Regions from separate parts of the Homo sapiens genome. Here region 2 is linked to region 1. Evidence: promoter capture Hi-C in 16 types of primary human blood cells and fetal thymus (Javierre and others, 2016). All regions are on one chromosome and are shown on one strand. The core of a region is centred on a gene start or on the middle of the fragment in contact, and the rest is flanking DNA. Distances in the headings are between cores, read along the strand shown.

Evidence for each region. The method cuts DNA at HindIII sites, captures the fragments that hold promoters and counts their contacts. A CHiCAGO score of 5 or more calls a contact.
Region 2: a fragment that was not itself captured here is called in contact with the fragment with the promoter of PDE2A in region 1 in 1 of 17 cell types (endothelial precursors); the score reaches 6.5 in endothelial precursors.

The regions. Positions count from the first base shown.
Region 1 is chr11:72,671,463-72,677,942 of GRCh38, reverse strand. It overlaps PDE2A (phosphodiesterase 2A), which reads left to right and starts at 3,521. Exons shown (of 31, transcript NM_002599.5): 1 at 3,521-3,806. The coding sequence starts at 3,736. RefSeq lists a silencer at 887-936 and enhancers at 1,797-2,297, 2,448-3,072, 3,073-3,699, 3,700-4,325, 4,326-4,952. The HindIII fragment of the contact is 6,386 bases long and covers 1-5,178 here.
Region 2 is chr11:72,438,986-72,445,465 of GRCh38, reverse strand. No RefSeq gene overlaps it. Among named protein-coding and RNA genes, the nearest start is that of CLPB, 7.7 kb to the right of the region's middle. The HindIII fragment of the contact is 1,889 bases long and covers 1,663-3,551 here.

The sequences.
Region 1 (6,480 bases), core at 2,272-4,771:
TAGGAGAGGGATGGGGCAAGGCGACTTTGAAGTGTCCAGCTCAGAGATTGGAAGTTTGCTGATGCCTTTGGGAGGCCAAGGCAGGCAGATCACGAGGTCAGGAGTTGAAGACCAGCCTGGCCAATATGGTGAAACCCCGTCTCTACTAAAAATACAAAAATTAGCCGGGCGTGGTGCGGGTGCCTGTAGTCCCAGCTACTTAGGAGGCTGAGGCAGGAGAATTGCTTGAACCCGGGAGGCAGAGGTTGCAGTGAGCCCAGATCGCACCACTGCACTCCCCACTCCACCCCTTCCCCATGCCTGGGTGACAGAGCGAGACTCCGTCTCAAAAACAAAACAAAAACCCAAAAAACAAAAAACTAAGAAGTTTGCTGATGCCTTTAATAGTAACAAAAGGTGTATTGGATGTTCAATATTTGAGGGACCTACGGGTTGTTCCCAGAGGAGATGTCCAAGAGACAGCCTGGACACCTGGAGCTCCAGGGAGAGGGATGGGCAGCAGGGGACACCCGGAGTTGTTGGTATGCTGGGAGAAGGCTGCATGCTCCGTGGGAGTAGGGTGGAGAATGAGGAGAGACAGGGCCGCCGTCCTGCAAGGAGCATCCATATTGAGGGGGCGAAGATAGGGTGCACCAGTGAGGGAGACAGAGGAGGGGCCGTCTGGAAGGTGGGAGGGAAACAGCCGCGCAGGACGGGGCGGGGGCGGGCGCTGAGAAGAAGCCGCCTTCTTCGGCAAAGAGGTAGCTGAAGCCTGTGGAGCCTGCAGTCCTCTCAAGGCTATGGGGGCAGCGCGGAGGCCGGATTCCAGAACTGAATCTTCCCATCGCTTTGGGCAGCCACCCTACCTCCCAGGAGCATCCTTCCTGCCATCCCACCTCCAGTTCCCCAGCTAACAAAAAACGGTGTTTCTTGACTCCCGGCAGGGCGGCGGGGCGGGCAGGTCTTGTGAACACGGCTCGCAGGGTTCAGCACCCTGGAGAGAGGCCTGTGGCCGGGGCGGGGCCTGCGGCGGGGGTAGGGGCGCGCAGTCAGAGCAGTCGGGCCTTTGGCTCCGTCTGGGAGCGGTCTTGCAGGCAGGCAATTGATGGAGGAGGGAAAAACAATCTTGGATTTTCTCCAGCTCTCTCCCCTTTATGCACCTCCCCCATCCCGGCACTGGCCTACAGGAGCCCCTATCCCAGCATTTGGGGCTATTACTCTCCTGACGACTTCAGGAAATGAGATGGGAGGAGAGGGGCAACTATTTACTGGGAACTTTTCAGACATTCCCAAAACCTCACAACCTTTTGAGCTTGGAATTCGTGACCCCATATTTCAGATGAGGAAACTAAATTGAAGTTCAGGAAGGTGAAATACCTTGCCTAGGCACTTGGCAGAGCTGGGATTTGAATTCCACCTGCCGGGCTCTAAGTCCTGAGTGCCCATTAGCCCTTCTGAGTCCTGAATCTTGCAGTTTGTTCCTGCAGACTCTCCACTTCTGGGTGGCTGTGGAGTCTGGTGTGGCAGTGGGATGGGGAGGAGACCTTCCCTTCCACCTGCTTGCTTGAGTGTATTCCCAGGAGATTTCTGAAGATGAGGCCACCACCATTGTTTCTGAAGTGGGAGGGCAGAAAGGAGGCTGAGGGCCAGGTGAGACCTCGTCACACCTGCACCCATGCATGCCCAGGAGGAACCCTCCTTTGAACTCTTCTGACTCAGCTTCTTGCTGCCAGGTTCCTCCGACCAGTGAGCAGGTTCCCAGGACATGAAGGGGAGCTGTGAGGGAGCAGGACGCCATGGTCCAGGGCTGCAGCTTCCTGAGCCCAGAGAATGCCTTCCTAGCTGTCAGGAATGGAGCAGCGAGGCCCCAGTGATAGGTGAGGTGGAGAAGCAAGACATGAGTTCTGGGCTGGCTCAGCTGCTTTACAACCAGCCTGGGCCTCGTTCCCTTTGAGAAAATGGTTTGCCCAGAGTTCAGAGATCTAAAATTCTATGATGCCTTCTGGGGCCACAGTGGGAAGCAAAGACTCCTCATATTTTCTTTCCTGACACTTCCCAGGCCACAAGACAACTGCTTTCTGCAGCACCCAGCCTGGGCAGGCCATCTACACAAGCTCAGTCATTTCTGACCTTGCCCCCTCCACCGTGCACCCCCATGTTCTTCAACATGGGTCAGGTTTCTATTCAGCCTCAGGGACTTCTCTGCTTGAAGCCTGTTGTGTGGCGGGGAGGTATTCTCCCCACAGCTCAGAGAGATGGGGTTGCTGTGGAGGGTTTGCTGTAGCTCCTCTACCCTGGAATATACCCTCTTCTGCCTTAAAAGACCCAGCTTGGACCCTCTCTTCCAGAAATGCTTGCTAACCGCCCCCCCACCACCCAAACTAGGTCAGGGGTCCCTCTGGGCTTCACAGACCCTGTGCTTCTTTCTGTCACAGCCTGCAAGTCTCCCCTCCCCACTCCCCAGCCCGAGTGCTTCTCTGAGACAAGGGATAGTGTGAGCCATGAGCTCAGCCACTGGTAGGCCAATGAATAAGTAAGTTAATGGTGAAGCCAGGATCCAAATCCCCATTTCCTGCCTCAAGGTGTGGAGCTGTTTCTCCTGCATACAATAGTAGCTCTGCTGTGACAACTCTCTATCTGTCCTAGGGCCTAAAATGCCTCTATTTCACTAGGTTATAGCTTTATCCTAGGGAGTCCTCTTTGGAAGCAGGGTGGGGGTGCAACAGGCCTTCCCCCATGCCTGTAGTCTGTGAGCAGCGAAGGCCATGTGGGGCAGGCTGTGGCCTAGGTCTCCACAGATCCTGGTAGAAGTCCATGCTCACGCATCAGCTCCAAGTCCCAGCTAAACCAAGCCACCAAGAGGTGGGCCCTGTGACAAGGCTCTGAGTCCAAAGGCCATCAGTAAAGCCCCCTAAGTCTTCCGTGGACCCAGCTCCAGGCTGGGATGCACGCTAGGAGATGATACACACCGGGTGAGGGAGCCCAGAGGAGAGGGCAGCTAGCTGTGCATGGAGGCCTGATCTCTCAGACTTGAGGGCACAAGCGTGTCCCCTCATCCTGAAGGCTTCTGCGATGGGGCAGCAGAGGGTCTGGGTCTGCTGCCCCTCAAGTCCCCAGCCCCATCCTAGCCCATGAGGATTGTAAATCCCTCGTCCTCTCCCCTCTCTCCTCTGTCAGCCACTCCCCTTTCCCCCTACCCCACTCTCTTTCTATTTCTGCCTCTGATTTTTTTTCCTTTTCTGCCTTTGTTCCTCTGTGTGTGTGTTTCTCTATGCCTCTCTGGTCTCTTTGTACTTCCATCTTGATCTCGCTAAGGCTCTGATCCCTCTCTCCTCTCCCTCTTCATGTGTTACTGTCCCCCTTCCTGTCTCTGTTTATCTCTCAGTCTCTCTGTCTGTGAGTCTTTTTTCCTCTCTCCCAGTCAGACTCTCTCTCTACCCCTCCCTCTCTCCCTCTCTCCCTCTCTGTCTGGGCCTCTCTCTGTTCCTCCTCCCTCCTCCCTCCCCCTTCTGCATTATCAGACCTGCTCCAACCTCCTCCCAGAGCCAGCCGAGCAGCAGAGGCAGTGGCAGCGGGAGAGGCGGGAGCAGCGGGGCAGCAGAGCTGGATTGGGGTGTTGAGTCCAGGCTGAGTAGGGGGCAGCCCACTGCTCTTGGTCCCTGTGCCTGCTGGGGGTGCCCTGCCCTGAACTCCAGGCAGCGGGGACAGGGCGAGGTGCCACCTTAGTCTGGCTGGGGAGGCGGACGATGAGGAGTGATGGGGCAGGCATGCGGCCACTCCATCCTCTGCAGGAGCCAGCAGTACCCGGCAGCGCGACCGGCTGAGCCGTGAGTATAGTGAGGGGCTGGGGTGGTGAGCGGCTGTGAGAGGTGCCACAGACAGGGTCCTGGGAGTCCCTCCAAGGAGCTGGGGTTGGCATGGAGCTGAGCCACGTGGAAGGATCGATCCTGTTCCTGGGCACCCCTCCTCCCCGCGTTGCCAGACTGCAGCCTGGGGTGGGGGCAGGTTACCTCTGAGCAGAATGAGGGTGTCTAACGTCAACCTAGTAGGTGATGAGGCTGGGGTCCCATGGAAGGGGCTGCTGGTTGGAGGAGGGGCTGATAATGAACCTGAACCGGTTCTTCAAGGGCTGAGGGTGTATGTGGGGAGGGGGAGGTCTGCCAAGTAGTTGGGAGGAGCTCTCGGGGCTGCAATAGGCTGGTTCAGGACCCGGAGAGGGAGAGTGTCTTGGCCCACCAAGGCTATGTGTGTGTGAAGGAGGTGGGGAGGGGGAAAGATGGAGAAAATATGAATAAGAGTGGCCCTGGAGCAAGAGAGGGTTAGAGGTAACCACCTTCCATGGAATTGGGAATTGGGGTTCAGGGACACCACTTTATGAAACTTTACCCCAAAGCGTCTGTCCCAGGATAGGGTTCTACGGAGCCAGATGGAATATGGTGCCAGCCTCGTGTGTGTCCACGTGCAGGGGGGTGCATGTGCAAGTGAGTGGGGGGCGCCGTGGCGACACCCCTCTACTAAGGGCTGCCGAGGTGGTAGGCAGGGTATGTGTGTGTGTGTGTGTGTGTATACATGTGGAATGTAAGGGACATGTTGGGTGTAGAGGGGCCTGTAGAGCTCTAGGGTCCTTGGTGGTTGGATGTAAAGCAGCCTGTCAGAGTTTGTGATCATCCCTGTGTGAGTGAGAGTTTATTCGCATGTGTCTGAGTGTGAGTGCAGGTTGGTCTGCATATGTATGTAGGTGTGTCTATTAGGTTGAGTTTGTATATTATGTGTGTTGTGTCTGCAAAATAGAGTGAATCAGTGTGCATTTTTTATCTGTTCCATGTGCATTTATGTGTGTGTATTTGTTAGTGTGTGAATAATAGCATTGCTGTGTGTGGAGGTGGATGTGGCTGTGTGCGTATAAGTATTCTGGTGTGGGTGTGTGATCATGGTGCTAGTGTGTATATCGGTGCTTCTGTGGCTGGTGTGTGTGTGTATCTATATGTGTGTATTCATCTGAGTGTGTGTGGGTGGCTGTTTCCTTCCCCTGGCAATTGAGGATACAGCTGGGACACCATGGCCCACTGATGCAGGGCAGGGAGGGGCTGAATGTATGACCGCCTCTTTGAACTCAGGACAATTCATTCTACACCCTGTGGGAAAGATGCAGAAAAGAAATAGGCAATAATGACTCTGCCCTCTGGGGCTTCCTAAGCTTCTTAGACATAAAATAGCTTGAGAATAATTAAGCAGTAGAGATCAACGTCATGCTAACAGGTGGGGGTGGGGTGGGAACTGCATAAGCAAAGGCCCTGGGCTGGGCATGTCCTGGAGCAGTGAAGACACTGTATAGAGTGGGGGGCAGGCAGGACCCACATTCAATAGAACTTTAAGATCCAGGACTCTTAGGCTTTATCCAGAGAGCCCTGGGGAGCCCAGAAAGGTTTTATATAGGGGAGAGACATGATCAGATTTGGGTTCTAGAAACCTGCCCTGGGCCAGGCATGGTGGCTCATGCCTGTAATCCCATCACTTTGGGAGGCAGAAGCAGGTGGATCACTTGAGGCCAGGAGTTTGAGACGAGACTGGCCAACATGGTGAAACCCAGTGTCTATTAGAAATACAATAAAATTAGCTGGGTGTGGTGGCACACGCCTGTAGTCCCAGCTACTTAGAAGGCTGAGGCATGAGAATATGAGAATCGCTTGAACTTGGGAGGTGGAGGTTGCAGTGAGCTGAGATTGCCTTACTGCACTTTAGCCTGGGGGTGACAAAGTGAGACTCTGTCTCAAAAGAAGAAAAAAAAAAAGAAGAAGAAAAATAAAGAAACCTGCCTCGGTGGCATTGTCTGGGTTGAACTGGAAGAGAGAGGTGGGGCCAGGAGGCTAGAGTGGAGGCCAAGCCAATACAGGGGTCAGTGAGTTCTGGAGCTTTTTGAGAACTTGGGAAAGGCTGGATAGATGAGAACAGGGAAGGGAATGTCTAGGTGGCTCAGGCTTGGACTGGGGTCAGGGGTGTAGTGCAGACATCTCAGTAAGTCAGGATCTCATGAGGGAAAAGGCTCATGGAAGGCTCAGGAAAGCTGGGCGTGGGTGGGCTGAGGTAGTGGGAGAGATCTTTGTAGTGTTTCTAGCTAGGATGCAGAGGGTCAGAGATCATGGAGCCATCTCTTGCCAGACAGGGAAACTGAGACTATGGCTTCATCACTACCCTTTGGCTGCAAGGCTGGGGCTCAACCTCTTCATCAGACCTGACCCTCAATATCATTCTCCTTCAGGCCCTGCCCGGAACCTCTTGGTTGCTGAGCTTGGTCAGCTCAGTGAGGGTTAATTGTCTTTATGCTCCCTGCACCCCCACCCCCCGCAGTCATTCCCCCTGCCCACCAAGCAGCTCCTGCCACTCTTCCTGCTTCCCACTCCAGCCTCCTGTCCCCAGGGACTGCTGATGGCTTGGCTGGGATCTAGCCAAATGGTGGGGGGTGGGGGCGGGGGTGGGGGGAAGAGCTCCCAGCAGTCCTTT
Region 2 (6,480 bases), core at 1,358-3,857, 230 kb after region 1:
TGTTTTATCTGAGTTCCTTCCTCAGGAAACAACCTTCAGGCCTCTGGAAAAAGTATCAAAGAACTGAAACTCAATGGATCACAGCACCAGATGACAACCCCTCATTCATTATGATTGCTTCCTTTGCCCCTCCCTAGTTCCTGTTTTTTTACACATTGTTACATTTCTTCCCTGATGTATAAACCCCTAGTTTTAATCAGTCAGGGAGATGGATTTGAGACTGAGCTCCCATCTTCTAGGCTGTAGCACCAAGAAAGGGGAGCAGCAGGCCTGACCTAAGCCACACCCCTGACCTAGACCAAACCCTTGACCTAGACCAAACCTCTAGTATATGGAAGAAGCAGGACCCTCCCTGGACCTAGACCAAACCCCTGGTGTTTTGGTAATATTTTTAGTTTGTAGCTTTTACAAAGTTGCTATGAACATTCATGTACAAGTCTTTGTGTGAGCATATGTTTTTGTTTTCCTTGGATAATAAATCTAAAAGTTGGAATGACTGGATCATATGGTACATGCTTGTTTAACCTCTAAAGAAACTGCCAAATTGTTTTCAAAAGTGGTTGTACCATTTCACATTCCCCTTCAGCAGTATATGAGAGTTCCAGTTGCTCCACATCGTCATGTGGTACGGCCAGTCTTTTTAATCTTAGACATTTTAATACATATATAATTCATGGTTTTAATTTTTATTTCTCTAAAGAGCAATGATATTGAGGGTGTTTTTTAGCGTTCTTATTTGACAGTAAGAAGTTATCTCTCCAAATCTTTTTTCCAACATAAAAATTGGGTGGTTTTCTTATCATTGAGTTTTGAGAATTCTTTTCATATTCTGATGTAAGTTCCTTACTGGATGTATAATTACAAATATTTTCTCCACTCTGCAGCTTATCCATTCTCTTAACAGTGGCTTTTGAGGAGCAAAAGTTCCTAATGTTGATGAAGTCAAATTGATCTTTTTTTTTTTCTTTTATGCATTGTGTTTTTCATGTTGTATCTAAGAAATCTGCTTTATCCAAAGCCACAAAGATTTTCTCCTATGTTTTCTTCAAGAAATTTTGGAGTCTTAGGTTTTACATTTAGGACAATAATTCATTTTGAGTTCATTTTTGTATATGCTGTAAGATATGGATCACTATAGTTTTAATTTGTATGTTTCTTGTCATGGGTGTATTGAGCATATTTTCATATATTTAAATATGATTTATATTTCATTTCTCATGAGGTCTTTGGTCAAGTCCTTTGCCCAGGCAGCTGTGTTTGGATATGCAGTTCGTGTGCCACTCAAAAGCCTAAACCAATAGGAGAAGTGGAGGCTGCAGTCTGGCAGCATGCTGCTCCCTGGGACATGTACACTGCTTAGGGGCCCCTTTTTCTAATTCATCCTGAGATGGCTGCTTTCTTTACTTTTCCCAGAGGCACTGCATAAGCTAGCAGAGGCATTGTCTTTGTTCACTTACTGCATTGTAGGTCTTTTTCATATTTTATAAGAGTTCTCTGTATTACTTAACCCTCCATCATTGTGGTGTGAATATATTCTTCCGAGATTATCATTTACATTTTTTACTGTTCATGGTATTTTTCAATCAGAATAATTACTTGTAGAGTCAAATACATCAGTCTTTGCTATTGTGGGTCTGAATTTTGTGTCGTGCTTAGAAAGCTTCCCTACTCCAAAGTTATTTTGAAAAATCACTTCATGTTTTCTTACTGGCATGTTTATTGTTTCTTTTTCACATTTAAGTCTTTTGATTCAGTTGGCATTTATTTTGGTGAAGGGGTGAGACAAATCTAATTTATTTTTTCCCCAGTTGGCCACCTAGTTGTCCCAACACTGTTTATTAAATAATTAATATTTTCCCCACTTACGTAAAGTGCCAGATTTATCACAAACTAAATTCTCATCTTTAATGTAATAAGAGGACATATTACCCTGCCCAGAGGCCACATGCTACACTTTGATTCTATGGGAAAGAAACAGATGACAAGAAAAGGAGGCAATTAAGAGATTTGTTTATTTTCAGAGCATGATTTGAGTTAGTGCTTAAGAGTTCTACATCTATCATGTGATACAAAAATCAGGATAGCAATAACCTTTATCAGGAAAAGATTAAATTGTATTTACTATCTTCTATTTGTGAATAAGGAAAGTGTTCAATATTTTTGAGAAAAAGTAATGCAGAAGACTTTACACACACACATACACACACACACACACACAAGTTCCTTCGTTAGGAAAAGTTGTGTAATGGCTAAGACTTTGGGCTCTGACTCAACATAAGCCTGTGATGCTACTAGTCTCTAACTTGTGTTAATGTAGGGATTGAGTTTATTCATGTAAAGTGCTTATTAGCACAATGCCAGACTCAGAATACATGCTCAATATTCAGTAGCTGTTAACTTCTATTTTTGAAAAATGCTTAGATGAGTTTCTCCAAGATTTCTCAGATGTGGTTTACCTGCTATCACTGAGGGATTGTGCCTTCATTGACTGGAGAGATCACATGGAAAACATGCCTACCAAACCTGGGAGAAACTTACCTGATCATTTATATAGATAATTGATGTGGTTCACTTACTCAGCACAGTGGCTGGAACATAGAAAATACTTAATAAAACTTCCTGTTATTATTAATAATAAATCATTTTGTCTTAGTTATTCCAAAGAAGAATTGTAGAAGAGTGGACCTGAAGACAGTGCTATGGCAATATGCAGCAGGATCAGCAGAAAGTGAATTCTTTTTTTTTTTTTTTGAGACGGAGTCTTGCTCTGTCGCCCAGGCTGGAGTATAGTGGCACGATCTCGGCTCACTGCAACCTCCGCCTCCCAGTTCAAGCAATTCTCTTGCCTCAGTCTCCCGAGTAGCTGGGACTACAGGCGCCCACCACCATGCCCGGCTAATTTTTTGTATTTTTTAGTAGAGAGGGGGTTTCACTGTGTTAGCCAGGATGGTCTCCATCTCCTGACCTTGTGATCCGCCGGCCTCGGCCTCCCAAAGTGCTGGGATTATAGGCATGAGCCGCCATGCACAGCCCAAAGAGTTCTCTTATATCCTCCACTCCACTTCCCCAATGTGAACATCTTATATAACCATAATACAATGATCAAGAACAGGAAATTAACATTTATACAATATCATTAACTAAACCTTAGAATTTATTTGAAATTCATCAATTTTCCCACTAATGTCCCTTTTCTGTTCCCTGGTCCTATCCATGATTACACAGTGCATTTAGTATTTATTTCTTCTCAATCCCCAGTCTGTAACAGCTTCTCAGTCTTTCCTTATCTTTCGTGACCTTGACACTTTTGCAGAGTACTGTGACAGGCAGAATTCTAAGATGATCCCTAAGGTTTCCACCGCTGAATGTACATACCTTGTATACACTCTTGAGTACAGGCAGAACCTGTGAATGTGATGGGATATCACTCCTGTGATAACATTACTTATCGGTTCACTTTGACTTATCAAAAGAGAGATTATCTGGGTGGGCCTGATCTAATCAGGTGAGCCCTTTAAAATAACCAGGCCCTTCCTGAAGTCAGAGAAGCTTGCTTGCAAGTATGAGAGAATCTAAGGAAGTGGTTACATGGCAAAGACCCAAGAGTTTTTTCCAGGAGCTGAGAGGTTCTCAGCTGCTGCTGGCTAGCAATACAGCCTCAGTCCCACAGCTGCTAGGAAATGATTTCAACCAACAGTGTAAGGCAGCTTGAAAAACTACCTTTGCCTGGTGGGCATGGTGGCTTATGCCTGTAATCCCAGCACTGTGGGAGGCCAAGATGGGTGGATCACCTGAGGTCAGAAGTTCGAGACCAACCTGTCCAACATGGTGAAACCCTGTCTCTACTAAAAATACAAAAACATTAGCTGGGTGTGGTGGCGTGCACCTGTAATCCCAGCTACTTGGGAAGCTGAGGTAGCAGAATCATTTGAACCTGGGAGGTGGAGGTTGCAGTGAGCTCAGATTGCACCACTGCACTCCAGCCTGGACAACAAGAGTGAAACTCCATCTCAAAAAACAAAAAGAAAAACTACCTTTCCCTAATTGAGCCTCCAGATGTGAATGCAGCTGGCCGACACCTTGATTTCAGACCCAGAGCAGAGCATAGTTAGAATATGCTAGACTCCAGACCCATAGAAACTGTGAGATATTAGATGGCAATTGTTTTAAGCTGCTCAGTTTATGGTGCTTTGTTTTGCAGCAATAGAAAACTAATACAAATAATAATATAAATCAGTTATCTGTAGAATATCCCTCAATATGTGTTTGTCTGATGTTTTCTCATGTTTGGAATGAGGTTATATATGCTTGATGAGAATGAACAAAAACGATGTGTTCTTCCCAGTGCATCATATCAAGGGATTCATTTTGTCTGTTGTGTATATGTCTTATTACTGGTGATATTTACCTTTGATCATGTAGTTAAATTGGTGTCTGCCAGGTTTTCCCCACTGTAAAGTTTTTGTAGTTCATAATTATCTTGCAGGAAGTACTTTTTTTTTTGAGAGGAAGTCTCACTCTGTTGCCCAGGCTGGAGTGCAGTGGCGCAATCTCGGCTCACTGCAACCTCCACCCCCCGGGTTCAAGTGATTCTCCTGCCTCAGCCTTCCGAGTAGCTGGGATTACAGGCGCCTGCCAGCACGCCTGGCTAATTTTTGTATTTTTAGTAGAGACAGGGTTTTACCATCTTGGCCAGGCTGGTCTTGAACTCCTGACCTTGTGATCCACCTGCCTCAGCCTCCCAAAGTGCTGGGATTACAGGCGTGAGCCACCGTGCCCGGCTGCAGGAAGTACTTTTGAGACTATATAAATTCTGTTTCTCCTCCTTGTCACCCACTAATTTTAGTATCATCTATGGATCTTGCCTGAAATGTTTATTTTTATTTATGTTTTTAGAGACAGGGTCTTGCTCTGTCACCCAGGCTGGAGCACTGTGGTGCGATGAAGGCTTGCTGCAGCCTTGACCTCCTCGCCTCAAGCAATCCTTCCGCCTCGGCCTCCCAAGTAGCTGGGACAACAGGTGTGTGCCACCCTGCTCTGCTAATTTTTTTATTTTATATTTTTGTATAGACAGGGTCTCACTTTGTCGCCCAGGCTGGTCTCAAACTCCTGGCCTCGAGTGATCCTCCTACTGCCTTGGCCTCACAAAGTGCTGGGATTACAGGCATTAGTCACTACATGAGTCACTGTGCCCAGCCTGAAATTTGTATTACTCCAGTGTCTGCCTAGTGGTAATTCTCTATTTCTCTCTTTCTTCTACATTTATTGATTGAACTTCCACTGTAAGAAAGAGCTGCCTCGGGCCAGGCGTGGTGGTTCACGCCTATAATCCCAGCACTTTGGGAGGCCGAGGCGGGCAGATGACAAGGTCAGGAGATCGAGACCATCCTGGCTAACACAGTGAAACCCCGTCTCTACTAAAAATACAACAAAAAAAAAAATTAGCCGGGCATGGTGGCGGGCGCCTGTAGTCCCAGCTGGAGGCTGAGGCAGGAGAATGGTGTGAACCCGGGAGGCAGAGCTTTCAGTGAGCCGAGATCGCGCCACTGCACTCCAGCCTGGGCAACAGAGCGAGACTCCGTCTCAAAAAAAAAGAAAGAAAGAAAGCTGCCTCTTCCCTCATTCCTCCCCTATTTATCTATTTATTTATTTGATTATTTATATCATATTTGTTTTACTCTGTGGATCAAAACCCCATATGGTCATTACTTTTCAGTTAAATTGTTCCTACTTAGGTCATTATGAACTCCTTCACACTGGCTCCTGTGTTCTTTTCACAAGCCTGCATCTGGTTTTGAGCCTTTCCTAACTTCCTGGCACATACGATGTTGTTGACTCATTTTGGATTTTCTCTGCCCAGTCCTGAAAACAACCATTCTCCAAGGGTAACTGGTTTCTGGGTTATTGGAGAATGCTGTTTATGTCTGGGTGTTAGGTGTGTTCAATTTTTAGGGTGTAATTGCTTCTAGACCCTCCCAGAGGCTAGGTAATATATGTAATACACGAACCCATACATACTTACATATTTATATTTCTGTATTGATCTGTCTGTATCTATTTTTAAAAACCATGAGTTTTACAGCTGGGCATGGTGGCTCTAACCTGTAATCCTAGCACTTTGGGAGGCTGAGACAGGCAGATCATTTGAGGTCAGGAGTTTGTGACCAGCCTGGCCAACGTGGCAAAACCATATGGTCAATAACCAATTGAGACCAATCAGGCTGGTTCGAGACCAGTCTGGCCAACATGGCGAAACCCTGTCTCTACTAAAAATACAAAAGTTAGCTGGGCGGTGGTACATTGCTGTAATCCCAGCTACTCAGGAGGCTGAGGCAGGAGAATCACTTGAACCTGGGAGACGGAGGCTGCAGTGACCAAGATCGCGCCACTGCATTCCAGCCTGGATGACAGAGCAAGACTCCGTCTCAAAAATAAATAAAGTAAAAATAAAATTAAAGCCATGAGTTTATGCTGATACAT